Linked DNA regions of Homo sapiens: region 2 is linked to region 1. Evidence: promoter capture Hi-C in human tissues and cell types (Jung and others, 2019). All regions are on one chromosome and are shown on one strand. Each heading gives the region's core, a stretch centred on a gene start or on the middle of the fragment in contact. The rest is flanking DNA. Distances are from core to core; before and after follow the strand shown.

What was found. Contacts are between HindIII fragments. The study calls those that stand out against the background at their distance.
Region 2: a fragment that was not itself captured here is called in contact with the fragment with the promoter of NRG3 in region 1 in 2 of the 25 tissues and cell types used here (dorsolateral prefrontal cortex and hippocampus).

The regions. Positions count from the first base shown.
Region 1 is chr10:81,873,844-81,876,502 of GRCh38, forward strand. NRG3 (neuregulin 3) reads left to right here and starts at 1,351. Exons shown (of 9, transcript NM_001010848.4): 1 at 1,351-2,320. The coding sequence starts at 1,498. LOC124902549 (a long non-coding RNA gene) reads right to left here and starts at 675. Exons shown (of 2, transcript XR_007062377.1): 1 at 506-675. RefSeq lists an enhancer at 2,300-2,659. The HindIII fragment of the contact is 10,350 bases long and covers 1-2,659 here.
Region 2 is chr10:82,651,037-82,653,695 of GRCh38, forward strand. The region is part of intron 2 of NRG3 (neuregulin 3); the gene reads left to right. Among named protein-coding and RNA genes, the nearest start is that of NRG3-AS1, 420 kb to the left of the region's middle. The HindIII fragment of the contact is 5,301 bases long and covers 1-2,659 here.

The sequences.
Region 1 (2,659 bases), core at 101-2,600:
ACGGAATTTGGGAGTCCAACCCCAAATCCTTTCATATTTACCTCTCACAAACACTTGCCTTGTAACGTGTGTACCTGTGCGTACATTTACAGGTAAAGACAATATTTTAAGGCAAGTTCACATAAATGGCTTGGAGATATCTGACAGGTCTGATTATACAAAGGTCTTCTGCTCCACCTGCATCTCTCAGGAACTCAGGCAAAGGTGGCCTTCCATCCAGCCGCACCGCCATCCGGCAGGGGAGGGCACAGGCACCCTCCCACCCGCATCCGCCCCCGCCCCCTCGCCCAGCAGCGTCAGTCTCTGACCCCACTGGATCCGTACAGGAGACGACTCACAATCGGTCGGAAGCTGCTTTTGCCCCCCCACCCCACCGCAAACGGGGGTTTGCTTGGATCATTTATCTATCTTGTGTGCATTAAGAAACCAGCATTAGCTGCTAGTGGGAGGCGCTACTCTGCCCGAATCCCAGCCCGCCGCGGCGATTCTGCACACACACACGCACCAGCCTGGCAGCCAGAGCCCGTCTGGAGACGCCCTCAGCCCGGGGTCTGCGTTCCCCGGGACCCCCGACGCAGTCTCCCGCTTCCGTCCCCCACGCTCAACCGGGCAGGGCGCCGGGGCGTGATTTCCGATCCTCTGCCTGCTTGTTGGGTCCCTCGGAGGCGGGTCAGACCGCACCCGCCGCGGGCGCCCGGTGCGCCCCCAGCCCCTGGCTCGCGGCGGCGACAGCGGCGCTGTTCGCTGGAGTTTGACTCTCCGGCGGCGGCGGCAGCGGCGCGCAGCAGCGAACGGCTGGAGCAAGGCGAGCCGGGCCGCTAGCCCTCCGCGCTGCGCTGGGATTGGTCTCTCCAGAAGAGTGCTGGCCGAGGGTTGGCTGCGGGCCGGCTGAAGAACAGGTGCACCTCACCGCCCGGGCTCGCGGAGCAGCCGCCGAAGATCGCGGCGGCCAGGCAGGCCCTCTGTGTCGGAATGCGGGTGGCGGGCACCCGGCACCCCGCGACCGGCCGCCGGGGCCACTGAAGGCGGCGCGAGGCCCAGGCGCGGCGCGAGCGGGCGCCCCAGGGAGCGGGCTGGGCGCGGTGCCCCGAGGATGTCGGCGCTCCTGGAGCGCACGCAGGCGGCGGGCAGCAGCAGCAGCAGCGGGCGCGGGGACCCGGCGCGCAGGAGGCGGCTTGGAGGGCTGCAGACGCGCCCCGCCGCTCTCTGACCGACCGGAGGCGCCGGGGGCCCGTCTCGCCCCTCTTCCGAGCTCCTTACCGCCCCCTCCCCGGCCCCGTCCCCTCCCCCGCTCCTCTCCTCCCCGCCCGCCGCCCGCCTCTCGGGGGGAGGGGCGTGGGGGCAGGGAGCGGATTTGCATGCGGCCGCCGCGGCCGCTGCCTGCGCCCGAGCCCGCCGCCGCCGCCGGAGCCCGCGCCCGCGCCCGCGCCCGGCCCGCGCGGCCCCATGCCTCTGCCGCGGCCCTCGGGGGGGCGAAGGTGAAGACCGGCTCCTAGGATGAGTGAAGGGGCGGCCGCTGCCTCGCCACCTGGTGCCGCTTCGGCAGCCGCCGCCTCGGCCGAGGAGGGCACCGCGGCGGCTGCGGCGGCGGCAGCGGCGGGCGGGGGCCCGGACGGCGGCGGCGAAGGGGCGGCCGAGCCCCCCCGGGAGTTACGCTGTAGCGACTGCATCGTGTGGAACCGGCAGCAGACGTGGCTGTGCGTGGTACCTCTGTTCATCGGCTTCATCGGCCTGGGGCTCAGCCTCATGCTTCTCAAATGGATCGTGGTGGGCTCCGTCAAGGAGTACGTGCCCACCGACCTAGTGGACTCCAAGGGGATGGGCCAGGACCCCTTCTTCCTCTCCAAGCCCAGCTCTTTCCCCAAGGCCATGGAGACCACCACCACTACCACTTCCACCACGTCCCCCGCCACCCCCTCCGCCGGGGGTGCCGCCTCCTCCAGGACGCCCAACCGGATTAGCACTCGCCTGACCACCATCACGCGGGCGCCCACTCGCTTCCCCGGGCACCGGGTGCCCATCCGGGCCAGCCCGCGCTCCACCACAGCACGGAACACTGCGGCCCCTGCGACGGTCCCGTCCACCACGGCCCCGTTCTTCAGTAGCAGCACGCTGGGCTCCCGACCCCCGGTGCCAGGAACTCCAAGTACCCAGGCAATGCCCTCCTGGCCTACTGCGGCATACGCTACCTCCTCCTACCTTCACGATTCTACTCCCTCCTGGACCCTGTCTCCCTTTCAGGATGCTGCCTCCTCTTCTTCCTCTTCTTCCTCCTCCGCTACCACCACCACACCAGAAACTAGCACCAGCCCCAAATTTCGTAAGTAAACACTGTGTCTCAACTATGATTTACTACTGAGTTTCCCTTCTGCCCTCCTGCTGTCTTTTTCCCTCGCCGCCTGTTTTCTAGCAAGCCCCCTCCCCCATCCCAGGTTTGGGGCAGAGTGAGAGCTGATTAAAACTGGCCACCAGCGGGGAAGAAGGTGCCAGCCTGCTCTGGTTCTGGGGGGGTGGGGGCGTGTAGGAACGGGAGGGAGATTGTCAGGCTCCACTGGCCCCACTTTAGCGGGTCCCAAGTGAGAACAGATCTCCCAACTCCCTTCAAAGGGTTAACGCGAGTGCGATCCCTCCTCACTGCAGACCTGCTGGCGAGCTGCCG
Region 2 (2,659 bases), core at 61-2,560, 780 kb after region 1:
TAATTGGGCTGCTGGTTGAGAAAGGCAGAAAGCAACAGGAGGCCATTGAGATAAAGAGGAAAAATGGTAAGAAAATTAGGCCAACTATTTGTAGTGCACTCATTTCATTTTCTTGTTTAGTTTACATTGGTTAGAAGAAGATGACATGGACTAAGTGTAAGGTGAGGTAGTGGGAGTCGAGAACAGGAAGACCACTTTAGGGTGGGGAGGTCTAGAATAAGAAGCTGAGCTTAGAATGTGATGTCTGTGTGAAAAGAACTTTAGAGATCTCCAGATTAAAAAGAGATCTCCATATTTCCTAATAAGGGGAAAAGAAAAGATATGTCCAATAAAAGAGAAATAATGGGGACTTCTAACAAATATTGATGAAGTGAAGGAATGAGACTTCCAAGACTGGGTCATAAAGGACACCACAGCTGTTCTTTGCTCTCTCAGGTCATTCTGTCTGGGGAAAGCCATCTGCCATGTCATAAGGACACTCAAGCTGTCCTGTGGAGAAGCCTACATGACAAGGAACTGAGGACTCCTTGGCAATAGCCAGTGACGAGTTTAGGCCTTTAGCCAGCAGTCGTGAGTGTGCCATTGTGGAAGCAGAGCCTTTGGCCCATAATTTTCAACCAAAGGTGATTTTATACCCCCATGGACTTGTCAATGTCTAGAGACATTTTGGTTGTCACAACTGGGAGGTGGGGGTAATACTAGCGTGTAATGGTTGGAGGCCATGGATGCTGGCCTCATAGATATATGAGGTATATATTCATCCCCAAATATCAGTAGTTCCAAGGTAAAGAAACCTGCTCAGTCCCAGTCAAGCCTTCAGATGACTGCATCCCAGTTGACATTTGGACTGCAACATTGAGGCAGGATATTTCCCTGACCTCTTCACGGGACTCACAGAGGGAGTGCCTCATTTACTCAACCCACAGTTCTTGACTCCTTGTGGGAGGAAGCACACAAGTGAGTGAGGCAGGAACTGGAGTGCAGAGGTGCTAGAACTAGCCAGCTGCTTTGGCACCAGCAGGGGTGAACTTCATTCACTTGGACCTGCTGTGATCTGCCCCTGGTGGGAGGAAGCATGCAGGTGAGTTGGTGCAGGAGCCAGGATGAGCGCTTTTAGGGTGCCAGCAGGAGTGAACTCCATTGTGGGCCCTGCAGCAGCACCTGGAGGGGGTGCCTGCAACCCATGAAGCCGCAGAGGCAGCTGCCTTCCACCGGTGAGGGCAAAGGGTCAGTGTGACAGCCTTTTTGTATCCACACTCTTGGCTCCTGAGCCCTTATCTAGCATCTAGGAGAATGGAGGTCACACGAATGAATTGAAGGATGGTAAATGAGGGGGATTTTATTGCCAATGAAAGTGGCTCTCAGCAGGAAGGGGAGCTGAAAAGGGGACAGACGAGATGGGAAGATAATCTTCCCCTGAAGACTGGCCATCTCCAGATGGATTTATCTCAGAAGTTAGGCCCTCAAGGTTTCCCTCTGAAGTCAAGCTGCTTCTCTCCTCTCCCCAATTGTAGCCTCCAACATCTAGCTGCTTCTCTTCTCTCTGCTGGCTGAGCCTGGGGTTTTTATAGGCAGAGGATGTCAGGTAGGGCAGGCCATGGGTGGTTTTGGAAAAGGCAACATTCAAGCAGGAAAACAGGGATGTCAGTTCTCACTTTGAGCTAGTCTCAGGTTTTTCGGCTTGAGGGTGGGGCTTTGACAGGGACCCACCCCTGTCTGCCTAGAATTTCTCTTCCTCCTGTCCCCATCAATGTCATGAGAGATTTTGAGCCACAGCCACTCAGTTCATCTGCTCCAGGATTTCTGACCTTTCAAATGTGTGTGAGATAATAAATGTGTTGTTTTAAGCTGCTGAGTTTTGGGTTATTTATGCAGCAATAAATAACTAATACAGCCCCCAAAATGTTTCTCTAGGGTTGGAGTAGATATTTTAAGTAACCAAATCAGGCTGGTATTTGGAGGGCATAAGAGGGACAGACAGAACATGAATAAATATTTCTGCTAAATAGCATGTTGGGCAGTAAAGTATATTTTATTATCATAGTTCATGAGACTTACCAAAGCTCAATTAGTGATGATTATAACAAGTGGCTTGTTAAAGCTGAAACTTACATGTTTCATACCTCTTGGCAGAAAGACACTGGTAACTGTCAAGATTTCCAGGAATAATTAAGAGTGCTGAATGAGGCAGCAAGGCCTTATGGAATCAGTAAGTAAAGAAAAACAGAAGTTGCATATTTACAAACTGAACAGTGAAGTGAGTAGGTGATAAATAGAGAAGCTACCAGGATAGAAGCAAGGTATGTTAGAGATGATGCTGTCATCTTTGTAAACTTTAGTGGAGGGCTCAAAGAAGAGAAGTTGAGGCTGATGTTCTGCAAATGTGACTGAATGCAAACTCCCTGGAGAGCCTGTGGAAATGCAGATTGAGGGGCTGCAGATTCTGCATTTGACTAACAAGTCCCAAGAGAAAATGAAAGAACTTGATTCTGTAGAGAGGACATTTCTTCTTGTAAGGCCTCAGAGATGAAAGGGAATTATATTGATAAGACACACATATTTGGAAGATGAGAAAAGGGATCCATTCTCATACAACTAGTTCAGGTTTTTTTTTAAAAAAAAAAACAAAGGTGGTGGGGGTGGATCACCATAATCCTGC